Linked DNA regions of Homo sapiens: all the other regions are linked to region 3. Evidence: promoter capture Hi-C in human tissues and cell types (Jung and others, 2019). All regions are on one chromosome and are shown on one strand. The core of a region is centred on a gene start or on the middle of the fragment in contact, and the rest is flanking DNA. Distances in the headings are between cores, read along the strand shown.

Region 1 (3,586 bases), core at 1,046-3,545, 38 kb after region 3:
TTTTAAAGCTCAACAGTTATCTGACTGTTACACTCCCAAATGAAAGGTTCAATAGCAGTAGTGAACTGAGATTCCAAAATTAATTTGTCCAGTGATTTTTTTTTAAAGCCCATATTTTACAGCATAGGGTCCAACTGACAGTTGCCATTATTAAAATTTTAAAATATTTTGGGAAGGTATGATATCTTTAGCCAATGCAACATAATTAATCCTGCAAATAGTAGCACAACTTGAGGAAAAATAGTCCAGAAAATGGTGTGAGAGACGAAACTCCTAATTGCCTTTGAACTTTAAAATATAAACTGCGTGGGAATCTTTTAGAATAGATGTTACCCTTTTTATGACAGGAACATACTCGATTGGAAATTCAGCATATGTAATGGCTGAATCCAAAGCTAGGCTCTCTTTATGGATCTATTATTTTGTAGTTCCATGTTATTTTGATAGCTGAACTGAATGTGAGGGTGGTTTATCTTTCTTCTTCAGAGTCTAGAGGAATGTTTCTCTGACTTTAATGTGCACATTAGTCACCTGGAAATCTGTTAAAGTACAGATTCTGATTCATTGGGTTTGGGGTGGAGCCTGAGACCCTGCCTGTCTAGTGAGCTCCCAGTGCTGATGCTGCTGCTGTGCCTGGGCTACACTGACCAGGGTGTTGCCCACTACTGATGTGCCTATATTGTTGAAGTCTGAAGAAACACTATGAAGCTTATTGGCAAATTTTTCTAATATTTAAGATAATTGAAGTTTTTAAGATTCCTCATCCATGTGTATCCTTAAAAAAAGGCTATGGGGTAATAAATAGTACTTGGCTTTTCTTACCTTCTTTAACTCTTAAAAAACAAAGATTTCCAGCCGGGCCTGGTGGCTCACGCCTGTAATCCCAGCACTTTGGGAGGCCGAGGCGGGCAGATCACGAGGTCAGGAGATCAAGACCATCCTGGCTAACACGGTGAAACCCCGTCTCTACTAAAAATACAAAAAAAAAAAAAAAAAAATAGTGGCGGGCGCCTGTAGTCCCAGCTACTCTGGGAGGCTGAGGCAGGAGAATGGCGTGAACCCCGGAGGCGGAGCTTGCAGTGAGCGAGATTGCGCCACTGCACTCCAGCCTGGGTGACGGAGTGAGACTCCATCTCAAAAACAAAAAACACAAAAAAACCCCAAAGATTTCCATTATTTTCTTTGCACTGTTTAATGTCCATAATCTTGTCCCCCCAGATTGGCTGTTGTGGCCTTAGAAACTTCTTATAAAGACTATAAAATGTCTGGAGGCACTTCTCCACTTCCGGGGGTAACTGGAAGCAGGCTAGCAGGCACAAATAATCTCAAATTGTTGTTAAAGCCTGGCACAAAATGTATTTCTTGTAAACTGGTATTTATGGTGATTTGGGAACGTAATTACTCTTCTGCAGCCTTCATCTCAAAATACAAAAATAGTGTAAGGAGTCATTTTAAGATCATCCAACATCATTTACATTACTTGATAAAAAGTGGGCAAAAGGTTAAAGTATTCTGCCACTTTTCTGTTTCATAGCTCTCAGCTGAGAACAGTATAGGATACCAGTGGGTCCGAAACAGGTCCCATCCACATGCTCCCTCCTTTTCCCTTCCCATTTCCTTTCTTTACTAATTCTTCTACCATACTTTTTAGTCTTGGAAGCCACAGCCCTGTCTTTGCTACTGCTTCAGTCCTGTATTGCATGGCATGACTGTGCTTCTGAACAACAGATGCCTTTTGTTTACATAAATATTTAAGTAATGGTTTTTTTTAAATGCATGATTATTTTTTAACTCTAGTTAAGCATCCCTGGATAAGTGACAGTTTGGCTAAGTTAGTGAAAGTTATTTACATAATTTATATATTTATTACCTGTGACAAATAGTTTTTCCTTTTTTCCATTAATGGTATTTATTATTTTGTATAACCTAAACTGACTTTTAATGTTACATTAATATTGACTGACCCAATTACTTTATTAAAAATAGTGGTCAGTTCAGGTAATTGGGGCATATAGTGACATGGGGCAAAAAAAGGATCAAATTAACTTAAATGTTTTTCTAGTTGGCCCTTAAATTCTTGAGCATTTAACCCTTCAAAAATTTTTGAGCAACTACAAAAATGTTTTGTAATTAGTTTAGAAAGCATCCTTACAAAATTAGATCCATCTCAGAAATATGAGACGCCATGTAATACAAAGTTTTGCAACGATGTCTCCTCAGGTTGAAAACAGATGTGCCACAGGAAGACACTTCTTAATGTAAAAGTCCAGAGACATCTGAAAATACATGATGTCATAAAGTTGATTTCTAGATAATATTACATGGATTTGATACATACTCAATGTATTCCCTCAAAATTGAGGGTGTTAGGCCGGGTTTGGTGGCTCACGCCTGTAATCCCAGCAACTTTGTGAGGCCGAGGCAGGCCGATGGCTTGAGCTCAGGAGTTTGAGATCAGCCTGGGCAACATAGTGAGATGCTGTGTCTTGAAAAAAAAAAAAAAAAAAAAAAAAAAAATCAAGAGTGCTAGAGACCGGTACCATTTCTCCCCAACAATCTGTTATTCCTTGAAAACATTTTGACATGAATCACTTCATGCAAAATGGCTTCAAAGATAAACATATTAAACAGGAATTTCCAGTCTGTTTATCTGCTGGATGATCTATATGACTTCAAAGTTCAAGTAGCTTCTAGCACAAAATTCATGTTTCCAGTCCTTCAGTGAGAATGAGAAAGTCTTAAGTTATGAACCTAATTCTCAGCTTTCCTGCTACTCTCTTACACTGGATTTTATCCCACTTGTTATGCTACTCGTTTCTTTTTGGTTTGAAGTCACTATTTTATTCAGCCGTTTTCTCTTCCTCTGTTCAGCACATACCTAACTGATGAGACCCACAGAGAAGTAAAATTTACTTCTCTCTGAGAAGGAGAGATGAGAGAAAGGTTTGCTTTTATCATTAAAAGGTATCTGTTTTCTGTTGTTTATTTTCAGATGTCCTTTCTTTTGAAAAATATTCAGTGGATATATAGATATCAATAACCTGAGCAAAGAGATATTGGCAGTAAATATCAAAGAGGAAATTTACATTCCTGTTCCCTTTGCTAAATTATTGATGTGTTCTTATACCATTCCCTTTGAAAACATAATGTGTACTGACAGGCTTTGACGTAGGCTTTAAATAGAGTTATGTTCCCCTAGTCCTTTTATCAGACGATCTCACTTCTACCTTGTAAAACAGCTGTGAATCCAAAAGTAAGAATTTGTGAGCCAACTGGGAAATAACCACAGAATCAACTCATTTTAAGTGCAAGGAGGAAAAATGCCCTTTTATAGAAACCAAAATATATTTTACTTAGTTTTGTAAATTTATTCAATTCCAACGTATAAATAACTCTGTAAAGACATTTTATCAGTTTCCCTGGGCTGGGATATTTTTAGCATATCAAAGGAAAACAAAAAAGTCCTCAGATTTTGAAAAGTAATGGATTGCATTGCCTTAAACCCTTGGACCCTGTCCACCTTCTGTCTTTGAACTGAACTGGAATTATTCCTCTGTTTGTGCTAGAATGTGTGTCCGCAGAGCTG
Region 2 (3,252 bases), core at 203-2,702, 50 kb before region 3:
TTTCAAGGAATATTTGTAGAGAAAATCTTCATTCCTTATGGGAAAATAAATAATAAATGACTCTATATCAGGAAATAAAGATTGTGTAGGAAGACAAATTCTGTTTGAATAACTAGGTGGGAAGAAATCCTTTGAAAACTTTATTGGTAGTAAATAATGCCATAAATGACCTTTACATTTTGATAAGGGATGCAAGGTCTCTACACAGATCTAAATCTAGATCTAGATAGATCTGGAGGGAAGGTCTTTTTGAAAGTGGGGCTTAGTAGGTGGCTGATCCTGAGGCTCTCTGATGAGTTTTCTCAAGGTGCCAAAATCTGTGGAACTATCAGAACTGCGTGTTTTCTTCAGGAAGCTACATGCAGGTTGAGACCTTACGTACTGAAGAGAGTTCAGATTACTCTACCTGGCTCCAAAACATTTTCTTTCCCACAGGTAAATCATGTGAAACTCCTCCAGTTCCAGTGAATGGCATGGTGCATGTGATCACAGACATCCATGTTGGATCCAGAATCAACTATTCTTGTACTACAGGGTGAGTTGGCAGCAACATCTCTTGGTTCCAGAGTTCCAGCACAGCAATACTACCTTCTAGCCACATCTCAGGAAGGAAACTAGGCTGTTGCCACCTGCTCTTGAGAGGTTTGAACACAGGTATTAACTCCTGATTGAAATGAACAAAGATAGGAGAAGATTAGGGGAAAAATCTGTGTCCTTGCTGGAAACCAGGGCAGTGCACACATAAAGAGTATGCCGTTCACTGGATGGGAAGGAAAAAAAATTAGGAGTATAGTAGTCAAAGCACACAAACAACCCTAACCCAGAGTAGACATTGCTGGAAGAAAGGGAAGGGCATGTAGCAGCTGTGTGAGAGAACAAATCTTAATGATAACAGCATGATCGCTTGCTAGGGCTGCCATCAAAAAGTACAGGCCTTCCTCATTTTATTGTACTTCACAGATGTTATGCTTTTTACAAATTGAAGGCTTGTGGCAACGCTGCAACAAGCATGTCAGTTGGCATCATTTATCCAACAGTGTGTGTTGACTTCGTGTCTCTGTGTAGCATTTTGGTTATTCTCACAATATCCCAGAGGTTTTCATTATTATCATGTCTGTGATAGTGATCTGTCTTCAGTGATCTTTGATGTTACTATTTTCATTGTTTGGAGTCCCTACGAACTGCACCCATATAAGACAGAAAACTTAATAAATGTGCATGCTTTGACTGCTCCATGGACAAGACATTCCCCTTCTCTCTCCCTCTCTTCAGGACTCCCTAATCCCTGAACACAATAATACTAAAATGAGGCCAATTAATAGCCCTACAATGGCCTTTAAGTGTTGACATGAAGGGAGGAGTCATGCATCTCTTACTTTAAATCAAAAGCTGGAGATGATTAAGCTTAGTGAGGAAGATATGTTGAAAGCCAAGACAGGCCAAAAGTCAGGCCTCATGTGCCAAACAGCTAGCGAGTTGCAAAGGCAAAGCAAAAGTACTTGAAGGAAACTTAAAGTGCTATTCCAGTGAACACATGAATGATAAGAAGGTGAAACAGCCTTATTGCTGATATGGAAGAAGTTTTAGTGGTCTAGATACAAGATCAAACTAGACATATTTCCTTAAGCTAAAGCCTAATCCTGAGCAAGGCCCTAACTCTCTTCAATTCTGTGAAGGCTGACAGAGGTGAGGAAGCTGCAGAAAAAAAGCTGGAAGCAGCTGGGCACTGTGGCTCATGCCTGTAATTCCAGCACTTTGGGAGGCAGAGGCAGGTGGATCACCTGAGGTCAGGTGTTCAAGACCAGCCTGACCAATATGGTGAAACCTCATATCTACTGAAAATGCAAAAATTAACCAGGCGTTGTGGCGGGTTGCCTGTAGTTCCAGCTACTCGGGAGTCTGAGGCATGAGAATAACTTGAACCCGGGAAGCAGAAGTTGCCGAGATTGTGCCACTGCACTCCAGGTTGGGTGATTCCTGAGGTTTAAGGAAAGAAGTCATCTCCATAACATAAAGGTGCAAGGTGAAGCAACAAGTGCTGACATAGAAGCTGCAGCAAGTTGTCCTGATGATCTAACTAAGATCATTGATGAAGGTGTTAAAATAAATAGCAGATTCTCCATGTAGACAAAACAGCCATCTATTGGACCTTCATAGCTAGAGAGGAGAAGCCAATGCCTGGGTTCAAAGCTTCAAAGGATAGGCTGCCTTTTTAGGAGCTAATCTCGTTGGTGAGTTTGAGTTGAAGCCAATGCTCACTGACCATTCTAAAAGCCCTAGGGCCCTTAAGAATTATGCTAAATGTACCTTGCCTGTGTCTATAAATGGAACAACAAAGTCTGATGACAGAGGTATGTTTGCAGCATGGTTTACTGAATATTTTAGGCTCACTGTTGAGATATAGTGCTCAGAAAAACAGATTCCTTTCAAAATGTTACATACAGCTCATTGACTTTGTATCCAATCAGGCAAGAGCTCTGATGGAGATGGACAAGGAGATGCATGTAGTTTTCCTGCCTGCTGACAACAGCAGCCATTCTGCAGCCCATGGCTGAGCAGTAATTTTGACTTTGAAGTTTTAGTATTTAAGAAATATATTTTGTGCCAGGCATGGTGTAATCCCAGCATATTGGGAGACCAAGGTGGGCGGATCATGAGGTCAGGATTTCAAGACCAGCCTGGCCAACATAGTGAAACCCCGTCTCTATTAAAAATACAAAAATTGGCCAGCATGGCAGAATGTGCCTGTAGTCCCAACTACTCAGGAGGCTGAGGCAGGAGAATCACCTGAACCCAGGAGGTGAAAGTTCCAGTGAGCCGAGATTGCGTCACCGCACTCCAGGTTGGGCAATAGAGGGAGACTTCAACTCAAAAAAAAGAAAAAGAAAAGAAAAGGAAAAAAAAATACATTTTGTAAGGCTATAGTTCCCACAGACAGTAATTCCTCTGATGGATCTGAACAAAGTAAGTTGAAAACTGCAGGAAAGAATTAATCATTCTACATACTGTTAAGAACACTCATGATTCATGGGAAGAGGTTAAAATATCAACATTAACAGGAGTTTGGTAGAAGTTGATTCCGACCCTCATGGATGACTTTGAGAGGTTCAAGACTTCAGCGGAGGAAATAATTGCAGATGTGACAGAAGTAGCAAGAACACTACAATTAGAAGCAGAGCCTAAAGGTGTGACTGTATTGCTACAATATCATGATCAAACTTGAACAGAAGAGGAGTTACTTCTTATGGATGA
Region 3 (3,456 bases), core at 417-2,916:
ATAATTCTATAAGACCCATTTTAGGTTTATACACTGAGCATCCAGTTCCTCACCGTCCTCTCATAGGTTAACCCTGTGTAATACAAGTTCTGCTCCCATAATTCTATGAACAAAACAGCCCTTGATATATAGGTTTGATTTTTTAAATACATTTTCTTTACTTTATTCTAAATGTAACATAAGGTCAACATAGAAAACTGAAAAGCATAAGGAAAGTGAAATATCTGTAATCTTATCAACCATTGTTAATTTTGCTGTATTCCTAGTTTCTTTTTATACATATCAATATGGTACTTTTGTTTTAATAAAAGGACTGCCAAAAGGCACATGCCAGTTTGGACTCTGCTTTTTCCACTTACAATGATATCATAGTTTCTCATATTTGGTATTCTTTTGCAATATTTGCTGCATAGAATTCCATCACACAAAGGTAACTGCCAGAAATTCTTTATTACTTTTGCTAGACACTTAGGGTTTACATTTTTTCAAAAATTAATCACATCAGAGTTTTGATCACATCAGAGCTTTGATCACAGCTCTGATGATTTCTCTGGGAACTGAGAGCCTAACACAAGTCATGTCCACTTTAAGACTTTTAACATACTGAAAAGTTATGTTACAGAGTGCTGGTCCCCCTGCAACACGTTCACTCACATTGGCTGACGTTTTAATTCTTTGCCAATCTGAGGGGAAGAAATGTCAACTCTTTGTTTGCTCTTTTAATGTCAGTCATGTCCTTTTCCTTTTACCGGTCATTCCGGTTTACTCACAATCCTACAAATCAATCCTGCTCATTCTTAATTTTCCAGTATTGTTCCTCAGATTGTTTCACCAGAAAAGTTCTCCCCCTTATCCACTCTTCACCTAACAATTTCTACCCATCCGAATCCTTCTGCATTTATTGCTTCCAGGAATTTGGCACTTAGGACACCCTTGTCCTTACATTGTTCATGCATGTATATTTCGTCTTCAATAAAAAATTTAGTTGCTCAAGGGCAAGGGCCCCATAGAGTCTCAATATTCTAATTGCCTGGTGTTGCTTAATAAATTAGATTCGGAAGGGTCCCCTCCAGGGAGGGGAGCAAAGGGCAAATTACCTTAGGGGCTGGGAGTGCAGAAGCCAAACCTTTGAGATTGTGAAAACAAGACGGCCCCGAGACGATCCAGTAGCAGGCATTCAAGCAAGAAAAACTCAAATATTGTTCCCAATAATGCCTGACTAATGCCAAATACCAAGTAAGGGCCCAGGCAGTCCTGACAGCCTGCAGTGCCCCAGGATAAAACTAACCCTGAGGGGTGCTAGCCCACGGTGACCCCCTGTCTAGACTCTGGATCTCTATTTTTAGGTCGAAGTGCTTTATTCTTGACTCCCGAATTCCCGGAAACTATTACCAAAGCAGCTTAGTTTTCTCTCCACCCTGCCTGGGTCACAAATATGACGGCGAGCCAGTCCTTTCCCGCAGGACGCCTCAGGCTTCCGGGATGGTAGGCCAAGGGCTTAGCAAGAAAAAAGGCGGCCTCGGGGAACCTGTTCTGTTAGGTTCCGCCAGGGCCTCCCCCTGACCTCTCGAAGGCCAAGGGCTGCCCATGAACGCCGAGGCTCCGCCCCGCGGCCCGCCGATTGGCCCCAGCCGCCCTGGTGACTCGACGCACTTCCGCCCCGGGCGCGGCTCGGGCCACGCCCACCTGTCCTGCAGCACTGGATGCTTTGTGAGTTGGGGATTGTTGCGTCCCATATCTGGACCCAGAAGGGACTTCCCTGCTCGGCTGGCTCTCGGTTTCTCTGCTTTCCTCCGGAGAAATAACAGCGTCTTCCGCGCCGCGCATGGAGCCTCCCGGCCGCCGCGAGTGTCCCTTTCCTTCCTGGCGCTTTCCTGGGTTGCTTCTGGCGGCCATGGTGTTGCTGCTGTACTCCTTCTCCGGTAGGACCCCGGGGCGGGTTCGCGCGTCCGCGGCGAGACTAGAGCTCTCCTCAGTCGGGCAAGAGTCGCGGGGCGGGGCTCACAGCAGGCCGTGCCTGTTTGGGGACAGGGTTCTCTGAGGGGTGCAGTGCTCAGATCCCGGGGGTATGTGGCGGGGAATGCGGGGACCACGCAGAGCCCGAGGTGAAGCTTGTTTGGTGGCGTCGTGTGCGCGGCCAGCATTTACGCAGGATCTGGCTGCGTCCCTAAAAAAAGCGTGAATCGTGTTTTCGGGATTGAGCCAGTCGGCCAGGGGAGCGCGGACTGGGCGCCCTAGGTGAGGGCTTGTTCTGGAGTGCACAGGTGCGTGGGAGTGTTGCTAGGGCCCGTGCTGTGTCCGTGGTGAGAGTTTGCCCTGTGTTCCCTTGGTGCCTTGGTGAGTGGGGTGTTCATTAGGGCTTGGACAGTACCCGCGGTAAGGGTTGCAGTGCGTCTGCTGTGCCCCATGTGCTGGGCTGGGCGAGCAGGGGCCTGGCCAGGTGTTGCTGGGAGCGTGCTGTGCGTAAGTGGCCTGTGTGCAGAGTTCACTGTGGGCAAGACAGCTCAACTGTTTGCTTTGAATGGAGTGAGCGCGGACTCTGGGGCTAGGGAGGGCATGTTGAGTGAGAGCAGGCTCTCGGTGCCTGGGGTTAGAGAGGTGGTAAGGGCGCGCCATGCTTTTTGTGCCTTCTGTGAACAGTCTCCGTGTTACCTGAGCTCCTATTAGTTTGTAAATGGCTGCTTTTTTGGGGGGTGGGTGGGCCATCGAGTCTTCTTCCTGTTCCCAACCAATATAGATAGTATCTGATTCCATTGCCTAATGGCTTTTTGACATTGTTTTCCTTCTTTTCATTACTTTGAGTCATATTTGAGAGATGTGAAACAACCTAAAAAACAATGGTAGCCAAACCTAGTGAGAAATTAGTATCCTAACAAAGGAAGGCAGATAATGTTAATCTTGTTTTCCCCTGCAGCTCATAAGCTAAAGCTTAAGGCCTATCCCACTAAATTTATTTTGTATTTCATTGAATGGAATCAATACTTTTAAAAATGCATGCTAGGCCAGGCGCAGTGGCTCACGCCTGTGATCCCAGCGCTTTGGGAGGCCCAGGCGGGGTGATTGCCTGTGCCCAGGAGTTCAAGATCAACCTGGGCAACATGGCAAAACCTTGTCTCTACAAAAAAATACAAAAATTAGCTGGGCATGGTGGTTTATGCCCGTGGTCCCAGCTACTCTGGGGGCCGAGGTAGGAGATTCACTTGAGCCCAGGAGGTGAAGGCTGCAGTGAGCTGTGATCATGCCACTGCACTCCAGCCTAGATGACAGAGTGAGACCCTGTCAAAACAAAACAAACAAACAAAAAAAAAACCCGCTAAGAAATACATGCTTATTGTGCGATACGAACAGAATCAAAAGACAGCTATTTTTAATATTTTGGCATATTTGTTTCTGCCTTCATGTGCGCGTCATGTGTATCTATGTCCAAATTATATTTAGGATCCAATAACATGTATA

The links. Contacts are between HindIII fragments. The study calls those that stand out against the background at their distance.
Region 1: a contact is called between a fragment that was not itself captured here and the fragment with the promoter of CD46 in region 3, in 2 of the 25 tissues and cell types used here (pancreas and psoas muscle).
Region 2: a contact is called between a fragment that was not itself captured here and the fragment with the promoter of CD46 in region 3, in 2 of the 25 tissues and cell types used here (adrenal gland and mesendoderm cells).

The regions. Positions count from the first base shown.
Region 1 is chr1:207,787,382-207,790,967 of GRCh38, forward strand. CD46 (CD46 molecule) reads left to right here. Exons shown (of 13, transcript NM_172351.3): 12 at 2,872-2,964. The coding sequence ends at 2,923. Among named protein-coding and RNA genes, the nearest start is that of MIR29C, 13 kb to the right of the region's middle. The HindIII fragment of the contact is 9,415 bases long and covers 1-3,586 here.
Region 2 is chr1:207,701,084-207,704,335 of GRCh38, forward strand. CR1L (complement C3b/C4b receptor 1 like) reads left to right here. Exons shown (of 12, transcript NM_175710.2): 9 at 436-535. Among named protein-coding and RNA genes, the nearest start is that of CD46, 49 kb to the right of the region's middle. The HindIII fragment of the contact is 3,747 bases long and covers 1-3,252 here.
Region 3 is chr1:207,750,388-207,753,843 of GRCh38, forward strand. CD46 (CD46 molecule) reads left to right here and starts at 1,667. Exons shown (of 13, transcript NM_172351.3): 1 at 1,667-1,922. The coding sequence starts at 1,826. RefSeq lists silencers at 1,508-1,617, 2,197-2,554 and an enhancer at 1,718-1,927. The HindIII fragment of the contact is 5,032 bases long and covers 1-2,519 here.